Regions from separate parts of the Homo sapiens genome. Here all the other regions are linked to region 2. Evidence: promoter capture Hi-C in 16 types of primary human blood cells and fetal thymus (Javierre and others, 2016). All regions are on one chromosome and are shown on one strand. Each heading gives the region's core, a stretch centred on a gene start or on the middle of the fragment in contact. The rest is flanking DNA. Distances are from core to core; before and after follow the strand shown. Region 1 has its middle 13 kb from the start of HMHB1. Region 2 holds the start of ARHGAP26-AS1 (ARHGAP26 antisense RNA 1). Region 3 overlaps NDFIP1 (Nedd4 family interacting protein 1).

Region 1 (4,141 bases), core at 490-2,989, 960 kb before region 2:
ATTCCCCACTCCTTCCCCTCTCAACTCACCTTCTCTTCATTTTTCGTATGCTATCAAGAAAGACATTCAAAGACATGAGAAAGGCATTCACTGACATAAGGGAAATGGTACATGGAGAGTAAATTGTGGTGTGCATTTGAGAAAGCAGGTTTGCTCCAAAGAGAGGCTGGCACACAGTGATGTTTGCTTAGTGAGCCAGACTCTAATTTTATTAGCTCATTCTCATCTTTGAAAGTGCTAAATGTCTGCAGTTTCCCCTGGGCAGGTGATTCAGCACCTTCCACATCAAGGGCCAGATAGGGTTGCAGTTTCACTCTGTGTGACCAGATTATTGTTGTTGAGTCAAAAGGAACCTGACATTGTGTATATATATCAACGTGGTTCTGCGTATTTCTTTACTGGGATGTTTATTTTTTCACATGCACACACTTTCCTACCCAACCCTCTTTCTGTGTTGGCATATGCTGTAGTGTTTCTGCAAGATATTGGTTCATTATTTCTGACTCTTGTGACATTCATTCTTATTACTTGCCCTTAAGGACCTGTTTCCAGTCATTGCTGGAGGTGGAACCAGGGAAGAATAACACACACGAAATGATTTCTGGTTTTAATTTTAATGGCAACTGCAGTCTCTTTCCCTATTCAATTATTTTTCTTGGAAACAATTCCTGAGTGCCTAGTTTCAGGGGAAACCTTCATCAAATAAACATAATATCAAGTTTGTATTAATGTGATGGGATGGCGTTTAGTACAATCAAATCTTGTTACTATGACTTACAGCAATGAATAAAGAAAGGAATTCAAATTCACGATTATAAGTTTCATGGAGGAAGGAATGTGATTTTGTGTAAATATATAAAGCTTTGTCTATGCATATATCAACATTCATACAGGACATGCTATAGAGAAAATGAAATCCCTTAAACATGCTCATTCACTCAGTCAACCAACATAAGGGAACGATCTGATCAAGATGGTTCTACGTGGCTGGGTATGGCAGGGGAGCAGCTACAGATGGGGCCAGGTTATGAAAAGTTAGCCAATGCCACAAGCTATAAAGTACTCCTCTTCCACTCCACTAAGCACTTTTTTGAGTATCTGTTATGTACCAGACACTGAGAAGACTCCAGCAATGGGAAGGCAAAGAGTCTGCCCTCCTGGAAGTTATATTCTAATGGAGAACATGCATTAAGCAAATAAACAAGATAATGACGGGTAGTGATTACTGTTATGAAGGAAATTCATAGAAACGCATAACAAGAGCTGCCATATTGGGGAAGGAGAATGTTGGGGGAAGGAGTTCTTTTAGATAGGGTGGTCATTGCCGGCCTCTCTAAGAGGAGACATCTATACTGAGATGAAAGAAGAGGAAAAGCCAGCCATGAGAAGTGTGCAGAGAAGACTATTCCATGCAGAGAGAACAGCAAGTGCAAAGGCAAAGGCTGGCCATGTCGGAGTGATGGAAGAGGGCTCAGGTTGGCTGGAATATGGAGAGCCAAGGGGGCATGGGTATACAATGAGATTGAAATCACATATGGATGTCTAGACAAGGGTGAAGTGTTGAGTTTTAAACAGGACTTGTATCAGCTCATCTTGGCTGCTGGGAGGAGAGAGGATTGTGAAGGAGCTGGGAGGAGAAAAGCAGAGAGAGCCCTTAGGAGACAACTGTAGTCATCCAAACAAAGAGATAGGGAATGGAGCTAGTTAGTAGCAGATGAGATGGAGCACAGCGAATAAGACACATGATATGGAAAACCGAAGAGCCTGCTTATTTATTGGCTGTAATAGATGAGGAAAAGAGAAGACATAAACATGGCTCCTGGGTCTATTATGGCCATTTAGATTACTCTCAGGTGAGGCAAAGCAGATGCCCTTCCAGAATAATTTGCATTTTACAGTGAGCCCTGTGACTTTTTCCTTACAGAAAGAAAGTGGTCTGCAAATGGTTATAATACAGAGATTAAGAGGCCAAAGTCGTCGTTTAACTGTGTGATCTTAGGCTCGACGCTGCCCCTCTCAGAGCCTCAGAACCACCTTGATTAACCTCCAAAATCCCTTGGAGGTAATGAGTTTTTCATTGGTGCAGAAATAGCCATTCCCTTGGTAGAAGTAGGATTGTACAACTGAGAAGCTGAACCAAACACAACAATTGGTGGAGTGCGTTCCTCCCTCATTACCCTGTAATCTCCAAAGAACCTCCTCATAGGTGCTCTTCATATAGTTTATCTTTGCACCTTAATGTCAGCACAGCAGCAAGTCCATGGCAGGGAAGGGGCAGCCCAAAATACATCCACCAGAGGGCAGCATAGAGCTGTGCTTGCACAGATCAGCCCCTGAGGTCATCAGCCCCTGCTGTGGGAGCGTGCAGATACCTGCTTCCAGAGAAGAGCAGAGTTGGGGTCTGGAATCACTGCTGCTGAAGCAAACCTTTTGGCCAGGGTACTGAGAAGAGCATGAGAATGTCGCTGCTACAAACAGTGACAAACCCTAAATCCAACTGCAGCTTACACAGTCCAAAAAACAGATAAAATAGTATTTTTATCTTTAGCTGTCTTACATGGAGGGCTATGTACCTGGCACTGACAGATGGGTATACGCATTATCTCACTTAAGCTTTACATCAACCCTATGTGCTGCATCCTGTTTTTTATTCCTAGTTTACAGATGAGGAAACAAGTTACTGAAGATCAGTGATGGGGCAGTTTTCTCTAACTCTATAAAAGTCTGTTTCACTATAAAACCTCCTCCTCCAGGCTGTATACATCTGCTTGTTATTTTTCTAGAGTTCTGCTGGCTGCTCTGTGGATAGAAAGGAAGTATTACATAAGGATTATATAGGATTTGGCTCTTGCCCTTGAAGTACGTACACTTTCAGAATGGAGAGAACAACTTAGGTATCATACAAACAACTGTATATAATCCAGAGCTTCACGGCTTGGTAAAACTATGTTTTCACTACTCCCCAGTCTCAAGTGTTTTTCCACTGGTACTACACAATTGCTATAAACAAAGTCTTTTTCGTGAGAAGTGGTGTGCTGTAGTCAAACATTCAATCATTCATTCATTTGCTCTCCAAATATTTAATGAATATTTCTTACTATGACAGACACTGGATATCACACAGAAACATACTTCATCCTTGCCCTTGAGGGGCTTATAATTTAGTTTGGTATGGTGAAAAATGGACAATGGCAAGTAAACCAGTACATGTGGGATTATAATTATACATGCCATTAAAAAGGTCCAGTGGTTAGCTATTATCCCTAGTGACCTCAGCTCTTGGACCAATGATTTCCTGCTCTTGATTCCCGTGATCTCCTTCTCTATTGCAGCCACCGGGCAACCCTGCCTCGAGCAGGTCTTCTCTTCTGTGACCTTGACCTTTCTGAATCGCCTCTGTGATTGCAATCTCATGGACACATGTCTCTCACACTCCTTTGGATTCCAGCCAGCCTTTCCTCCACCCTCAGTGTATAATCCCTCTTTCTGTATTCTCTTGTCTGCTCAGGACTCCATGGCAGGTCAATTCAGCCATACCCTTGTTCCTGCTCTAAAATCCCCTGACCTTCCATGATGCCCATCCTGACCAATCCTGAGTCTACCTAGCACTCTGCCCTCTCTTCCCCAGCACTGCCCTGACCTTCTTCCCACTCATCCTCTCTGACCAAACCTCAAAGCTCCTCTGCAGACCTTTCAGGAGAACTTTCTTTGCTTCCTGTTTTATTCTCCATGGTCCCCATGTCAGGCCTTTTCTACTCCCCTCAATCCCAAATATACTAAATGCACATTGTAGTAAATGTAAGAAAACATGTGAACATCCTCAGCTTCCTTTGTCTTTACCTCAGAATCTTCCTCCACCTGTGCCCATTTGTCTTTGGCTCTCCAAGCAGAATAGGGAGTTTCTTGCTCTTGCAGGCACTTCATGATAAGGCCCAATGGTACTTGAAAAGAATCTTATAGCGGCACTCCATTCATTCCTTCATGCACGCCTACCTTTCGTACTGCATTCCACAGCTGTGTATTGACCACCTACTATTTTCCAGCATTACAGTTAGCACAAGAGATACCCCATAGCAGCCTAGGATCAGGGAGGAGCAGGTCAGGTAGACTGGAACATTATGGGAGAAATGGAGTGTCCTGG
Region 2 (4,047 bases), core at 1,013-3,512:
CAAGCCTGAGAAGCAGTGAGGACCCCATGAAGCTGAAGGACAGGCCGATCCCCCGATAGACGATTAGGTAATGACTGCTGGTATGGAGTCAGTATTGGGCTTCAAGCCAATGAGGAAAGCTGGGTAGAGCGAGAATCCTGATGAATGGACCTGAAAAAGGAACTCACCTCAGGCTTGATAGAGGAATTTTTCAGTACAGCTAAAGTGGACACCTGTCCTTTTACTTGTTTGGAATCCATTCCCCAGACTTTGGGACAGCATCTCAAGCTTGTTTTGGAGAACCTCCCTTCTCCACTTGCATTCTATGGGGTGATGGTGACAGGGTGATCAACCCCAACCCCTTGCCCCCACCCCAATCCCACAGCTCCTGGGTTCAAGTTCCAGCTCCAACATAGATCAGATATGTAACCAACCCTGGGTTAGTCATAAAGTCTCAGTTATCTCATCTGACGGAGGCTGTCAGCCCGTGGGTTAGGCAGGGAGGATCCAGTGAGAAACACTGTATAGGCACTCTGCACATCACAAGACTCAGTTCTAGGTATAGCTGGGCTATTCTTTCCTCATATATGAATCCTCCAGTAAGAGGAACCAGGAAAGGTAAGCATGAATAACTGTTTGGAGCTCGGAGAAGTTAAAGGACTGACCTAAGAGTGCAAGGCCACTAAGGAGAGGACCTGTGACTTAAGTCCTGTGAACTGAGATCCTTGTAGTATGTGGGAACACCATACCACTTCACCCCATTAAGGTAAACCCTCTATGTTACTTGAGAGATTGAAAACAACACTAAAAAGAGAACTCTCTACCTAAAAACCATTGCTTCTTGCCAATTTCAATCCAGTAAGATTGGTGGTATCTTATGTAGATTTTCACCTTGGATATGGAGCAGCCCAAAGATTTATTTCAAGAGCTTTCCCTCTGATGCACACAGGAATCTAACACACACATTCCAATAAGAGGAGAGAGAAAAGAGAAGAGGCTGGCACTGGTGCTGGGTGCATGCCAAGCGTCGTGGCACCCTCCTCATATAACCCTGCTGTTTCATGTGCAGGCAGTGCAAGACACAGCAAGGAGCCAAGCAGAGTCAATAATATTTACTTTGCAGAAACATCTGTTGCTAGAAAAGCAGAATGCTGGCCAGAGTGGAGGGAAGTCATAACTGCCGGCATCTGGGGAGGCCAAGTATCTGCTTTCCAGAGTAGGTAGGGCTGTGCTTCTCTGAGTGAGGGGACCAGATGGCTAAGAAATATGGAAGCAGCTAGAAGTTTGGGCCTTGAGAGACTGCTCCCAGAGCCACCTGCTCACTCAGGGACTAGAGGAAGTGCCCTTCTTTTCTTGGAGATGCCAGCAGATATTAATCTGCACCGGATTTAAGAGAATTTAACCCAAATAGATCCAACTTTCACTAACACAGAAGGTTTACCATAATTTTTTAAAAATTAGAATCTACCTTAATTTTATACAAGTTGTACCAGTAATACCACAAGTCAAGCCATTTCCTTTTTCTCCTTGGGTAAAACTTAACATACATGTGCACACACAAACATGGACTCAGGTAACCTTACTACTGTATTTTCAGTGCATCTATTGCCTTTGTGACCTCCAAAGTTACCAAAATTGTGTATTAACTACCCTTGAAATGTTTTGCTGCTCAGTCACATCTTTCCCTTTGGACTTAGAAAGTGATTACAGTTCCGGGAGGCCAAGGCGGGTGGATCATGAGGTCAGGAGTTCGAGACCAGTCTGGCCAACATAGTGAAACCTCATCTCTACTAAAAATACAAAAAAAAATAAAATAAAATAGCCGGGTGTACTGGTGTGCACCTGTAATCCCAGCTACTCAGGGAGGCTGAGGCAGGAGAATCGCGTGAACCCGGGAGGCTGAGGCTGCAGTGAGCCGAGGTTGCACCATTGCACTCCAGCCTAGGCGACAGTGTGAGACGCTGTCTCAAAAAAAAAAAAAAAAGAAAAAAGAAAAAGAAAAAGAAAAGAAAAGAAAGTGATTACAGCTCAGAAAGGCCATCATTGAGGTTAGAACTTGCAACAGGATTGGCCTCATGGCTGCCTAAAGTTCAAGAATACCAAAGTCCCCGGGCCTTGTTAATCTCTTCCTTTCCTGGACGCCAGTTACTCTCTGTGCCTCATCACCTTGTATTTGGAATAATTCTGGAACTAGTCATGAATGGCTTCATGTCACAATGCACAAAGAGTGCCTCGGACAGGGCTGGACACAGTGTCCCTCCAAACCTGTTGTACGATGTGAGCGGGCAAGGAAACACAAGCTGGCTTACAGGTGGAATACCTGAGAGTCTCCAGAGAGGACCCATGACAGACAGCTGAGACATGGATGGACACGAGCCCCAGAGAGACTTCAGGTTTAGCCCACACCCCCATTCCTAGGTCAAACTCAACACACTCAAAACAAAACTCTCTCTACTCAAACACCCTCTGCCACCCTCTCCCCAGAGAGCCAGCCGAGGGCCTCTTCCTGCATCCCCAGTGTAACGAAGGGCACCACCATTCACCCTGCCGCACAAGTCACCAGTACATGTCATCCTCTCACACAGCAGGCTCCCTCATGTGCCATGTCCATTCCCAAGTCTCCTAAGCACATCTCAATTCTGCCCACTCCTTCCCATCACTATCAGCAACCCCTAAACAAAACACCTCCATTTGCCCAGATAACTGCAACTGCTCCTCTCTGGCCTCCCCACATCCACTTTTGTCCGTCAAATCAGTTCTCCACCCAGTTGTGTCAATACCAGCAGTGAGCCCTGTGATGGCTTCCCAGAGCTCTGGAGGTGAAGACGAAAGTCCCTCCCAAGGCCTGAGAGGCCCTGCAGGGTCTGGCCTCCCCACACCCCTCTCTGGGCTCCAGCTGCTCCAGCCTCTGCCAGTTCCCGGGGCATGCCCAACTCCTACCTGCCACCACATGCCACCTCTGCCTGCAGCCCTTGGCCCAAAAGTTCTTTCCTCCAGGAAGCCTTCCCTGACTTCTCTAATCAGGCCAAACCCAACCCTATTTCTCACTCTCTGAGTACTATACTATAGATCTTTTCTTCAGAGCAATTTTATATTTGTTCAGGTAATTCTTCTCTTCAAGTAATGCCTCCCCAACTAGTACATTCTATAAGGATGAGGATCATATCCCTTCATGCTCACCACTCTATCCCCAAAGCCCAACACTCTACTGCTTGACTGAGAGCAGGTATTGCAGAAAGAACAAAGAGAGAGGAAGTTGGGCACTCCATAAGTCCATTAGCCTTCATCAGAGGTGAACCTCCCAACTCAATGTTTGACATGTGAAAAAAAAAGCAGGTAAGTTAGGACAAACTCTCCAACTTATGTAAGTCTGGCTAGAGCCTGATATATATGTGGGAATGTGCTTCCTATTAGCATGTGACCACCTCCCTTCATGTTGTCCATTGAGGAAGAGTCCCACAGAGCTGGAGGGAGAGCTACCACCAGCAGGAGCATAAAATAAAACCTCACCTATACCAAGGAAGCTGGAGAAATGAGCTACATACAACCCAACTGCTGGCCACAACCAACTGTCCTCTCTTAGCCCCAGCACAAGCCCCAGGTTGCAGTTAAAATGGTTTAAGGAAGAGTCCCCAGAGATCGCTCTTTTCTTTCTCCCCGTATCTGGGAAAACTGAGAACATATCCAATCAGAAACTGTGCTTGGAGAGAGGCATTTCCAACGACTCCCCATTTCCCCAAGTCTGTATGTAGCAGTTTAAACCTAGTTCGATGTGCTTCATTATAAGAAAAGCAAGTTACAGTCCCTTGTAAATACCATTCTGCAGCCCAGACTCCTGGCATTGTACTAGCAAAAACAAACAAAACACACACACACACACACACACACACACACACACACACACCCTGTGCAAATCTTAGAATGAAACAAAATTCTCCATAGCATTTTTCTCGTTTCCGTGACACACGGTCTTACCTGTGGCCACTAGGTGGCAATCAACTATATCAGAGAACACCTTGACCAAGCAGCTAATTTAAACAACAGCTAAGACTCAAGGAGAAATGACAG
Region 3 (3,671 bases), core at 365-2,864, 720 kb after region 2:
AGCTGCCCCTATGATAGTAGTACATGAGCTTTAATGTTTAGCTTTTGTAATATCTACTTTGACTGATTAGAAGGAGGTGTTTTGGGATCACTTCAAGATTGGTTTATTTGTACTATATTTCAGGTAGCCTGACTAGAAAAGTCACTATTCTTATGCCCTTTTCTAGTAAAATGCCAAATCTTAGTACAATATGGAAAGTATATTATTTTTCTGTTTTGGTAAAGTTATTTTAAAAATTCTGTATCTGTATCTTTCTGGCAAAGTTATTTTAAAAATTCCCTACCTGTGTCTTTCTTCAGCTACCTTTTAATTGGTGACATCTCCATCAAAGAAGTAGAAGTCCATAAAAGAAAATAAAGCTTTTGGGAACACTGACCCCATTTTCTAAAGTTTGTGTTCTCTGATTGGCCATTCCCAGCTTTCTACTTGCATAAACTCTGTATTCTGATCCTTTTGATGGCTTCAGGTTGACAATGTCAAGAGAGGCAATTTAGCAGAGTAGTCACTAGTTTACCAGTGATTTTCCTCAGCAGGAGTTAGCCTAGGATTTTTAAACTACATTTTCCCTCTCCCCTATCCCTATCTCCCTAGAAGAATCACTGTACATGACAGTTAGAAATAAGATCAAATTTATCCTTTAGTAATTTGACTGCCTGCTAGGCAAAAACTCAACAACCTTCTGACAAAATTCAGAGCTCATAATCTCTACAACATGATAATTAACAATGCTGCAACAAAGAAATAACTGGCCAGGTGTGTAAAAACAGGAAAATGTAACCCAGAGTCAAGAGAAAAATCCATCAATACAAATAGACTTATCTAACCTGATGTTGGAATTAGCAGATAATTACTTTTTAAAAACTGTGATAAGCATAATAAAGAATCGATAGGGAGGAAAAAAATAAAGCTTTCTTACTTCACATGACGGTTTTCTAGTATGTCTTCTAACAAAATTAAACTAAATGTCCTCTGAACTAGAGAAAGAAGGGATTCTACATCTGGATCTGGACAGAGTTCTTACCCTTTCAGTGGACAAAGGGAACTCAGTCCCATAGGATATTATGGCTTTTCAGGTTCCCTCTGGGGATCCCTGGAAAATTAGTGAAGTCATTAGAATTCTAAATTCTGCTGTAAGTTCCTCAAACCCTTAATTTAGAGCTCTGAATTCTCTGGGTGTGTCAGGAATGATTTCAAATAAACCAGGGTATCACAGTTAAATAGAAAAGCAAATAAACTCTATTATGCCCTCCAATGGTGTGCATTCATTTACCTCTGAGAAAGTTTCTGACAACTCTTAACGTACACTCCTGAAGCACCAGCAGGCTCAACACTTGAATCTCCCTTAGTACTTCCTACAACATTATTATTACTAAGGACTGCCTACTTCAAATCACAACCCCACATACATAGTTTTAAATTTAGAATATCAAAAAACATTTCAGAAATTTTAGAAAATCCAAACAATAACAACAAAATTTTCAGTAAAGCACCAAACAACACAGGAAAACTGAGACGTTCAGGCTTTCTGTCAACTGGGCTGCTATTTCTTATGCTTAGAACCAAGATGAAGAAGGTATGCAATCCCCTAATAAAGATTCAGATTTCTTTCTAACTGAAGAACAAAGAGAATAGACAGAGGTGTGATCTCAGTCCATTTAGAAATTCAGAGCTAACATTAGACTACACCTACAGAATTGATGACTTTTTTTAAAAAGAGAAAGAAATCTGTCCCCTCAGTATATCTTGGGTGTCAATGTATTAGAGGGAAAATATTAGGTGATTTCAGCACCCTTCATAAGGAGGACTTGTAGCAACCCAACAGTACTAGCTTTGGAATCCTTGATAGGTAAAAGTTAAACCTAAGGCTAACTATAAATTCCAATCTGATATATAGATGAAAGATGACAATGGTAACTAAATAAAACTGCAAAGAATATCTAATAAGTCTCTTATGTTCTAGACATAAACAAAGACACATTGTAGGCATTAAGGCCCAGGCCAGTGGTATGAATATCCATCTGTGTCCAGACTGTGTGACTGAATTCAAATTCATGACATGCTACACATTTTCAGACATGCAATCAAAGATTCCTGTTTTTTAATAATGAATACTAGTTTTTTTAATAATGAAACTAACTTTAAAAGCAGTTTAAGCCTTCTTTACCTACATACATTTAATTATCCATGTAAAATGCTTAATATATTATCTGACACATGGAAAACTCCATGAGTGTTAATTTTAGTTTACTATACTATGCTTGAAAAAATGTTTGTTATATTCAAGAGGGTCTCATTATATGATTCTGTTGCCTAAAAGCTTTCAATGCTGTTCTATCACCTGGAAAATCAACTATGGTAGATGCTTTATTTTCTTGAAGCATACCTCCTGAGACCACCACAAGTCTTCAAAATTGAGAACCTCACGATTAGTATATGATTGCCTATATAAACTGACACTCTGCGAGTACAGAACAAATTCGTGCTCCACGTGGGCTTAGTCTTGCATTGACCCAACATGTCGCTGGCTCTATCAATTTCATGGTTCTACTGCAAATGGGCTTGGTGCTCAAGGTATCTGAGAAACTTGTTTCAACCTGACTTTTTAGCCTTGACCCTCAATACTCCTTTATGCCCCAATCAAGCTGCTATCCTCTGAACAAGCCCCATACTTCCCTATTTTTGCTCTTCACTCTGCCTCAGATGATTCTGAAATTCTTCCCCACACTCTCCACTATCATGTAAAGTTTATCTGAACTACACCACCTATCCTTTATAATGCTTTGCCTAAGACCTTCAACTGGACTGGCCTCTAGGTGGTGCTCAAGGTTCCACTCTATGATTAACACAGTCCCCAAAGCCCCAAGGAACAAACAGCCAAGTCCAAGAAAGCCTATTAGAACTTGCTACCACAGAGAGCTCTCTCTGGTGTACTCTTTCTCAAGATTCTCTACCTCTTCCTTCAGGCAGCCATTGATGTAAGATGGAGTGTCAGCCTCTGGGGAAAATCATGTGTGAATCAAAGAGCCTTGGCAGGGCTTAGTCCTCCTGTTCTAGGCAAGGGAAAAGGTCCTTTCTCCTCTTTTCTTGAGTTTGACCTTCCTCACATTAGAGTGGTATCAGAATGTCAACCTGAAGAAAGCCATGGGGAAAGCCTCAATGACAATTTTAAAAGATGGAAGACTTGGTGGGCTTGTCAGCAGCCCAGACAAAAGGAGTTCTTAAAGTACTACACAGTCTCTCCAGGTTCTGGGATTTAGGGGCAGAGATGAGTGATTAGGCCTGAAGGGTTCCTTCTGAATGTCATCCTCTGGAACTGGTGCAACAGTAAGCAGTGGCTTCAGGATGCTGGAATTCAGTCAAGCAGCCAAATATCCCAGCTTTCTGATGACTGCTAAGACCCCTGCCTCTTTCACACTGTCAAAGCATGAAGTAATGATTTCTCCTATGGCAGTTTTTCTAATTTGACTTTATCAATAGCTTTTTGTAAAAATCCCTGTTACTAGACAAGAAACTGCTAAAAGGCAGGGACTGTGCCTTCTTTACTTTCTCTATATGCCCCTATCACAGATACTTACTCTAAAACTGAACAGAAATCTACAATGTAGCACATGGTTACACTGGGACTAGAATAAATTTTTTCTTTAATACCTTTAATAAATAAAGAGAACTCT

The links. Contacts are between HindIII fragments. The CHiCAGO score rates a contact against its expected background, and 5 or more counts as called.
Region 1: a contact is called between a fragment that was not itself captured here and the fragment with the promoter of ARHGAP26-AS1 in region 2, in 4 of 17 cell types (total B cells, fetal thymus, naive CD8 T cells and 1 more). The highest score is 7.2, in total B cells.
Region 3: a fragment that was not itself captured here is called in contact with the fragment with the promoter of ARHGAP26-AS1 in region 2 in 1 of 17 cell types (naive B cells); the score reaches 5.4 in naive B cells.

The regions. Positions count from the first base shown.
Region 1 is chr5:143,823,464-143,827,604 of GRCh38, reverse strand. No RefSeq gene overlaps it. Among named protein-coding and RNA genes, the nearest start is that of HMHB1, 13 kb to the right of the region's middle. RefSeq lists a silencer at 2,225-2,364. The HindIII fragment of the contact is 1,752 bases long and covers 864-2,615 here.
Region 2 is chr5:142,867,125-142,871,171 of GRCh38, reverse strand. It overlaps ARHGAP26-AS1 (ARHGAP26 antisense RNA 1), which reads left to right and starts at 2,262. Exons shown (of 6, transcript NR_046680.1): 1 at 2,262-2,372; 2 at 3,083-3,315. All of the region lies in intron 1 of ARHGAP26 (Rho GTPase activating protein 26), which reads right to left. RefSeq lists a silencer at 3,854-4,047. The HindIII fragment of the contact is 5,262 bases long and covers 270-4,047 here.
Region 3 is chr5:142,144,654-142,148,324 of GRCh38, reverse strand. NDFIP1 (Nedd4 family interacting protein 1) reads right to left here. Exons shown (of 8, transcript NM_030571.4): 7 at 3,649-3,671. The coding sequence ends at 3,651. Among named protein-coding and RNA genes, the nearest start is that of NDFIP1, 38 kb to the right of the region's middle. RefSeq lists an enhancer at 2,858-2,947. The HindIII fragment of the contact is 1,410 bases long and covers 910-2,319 here.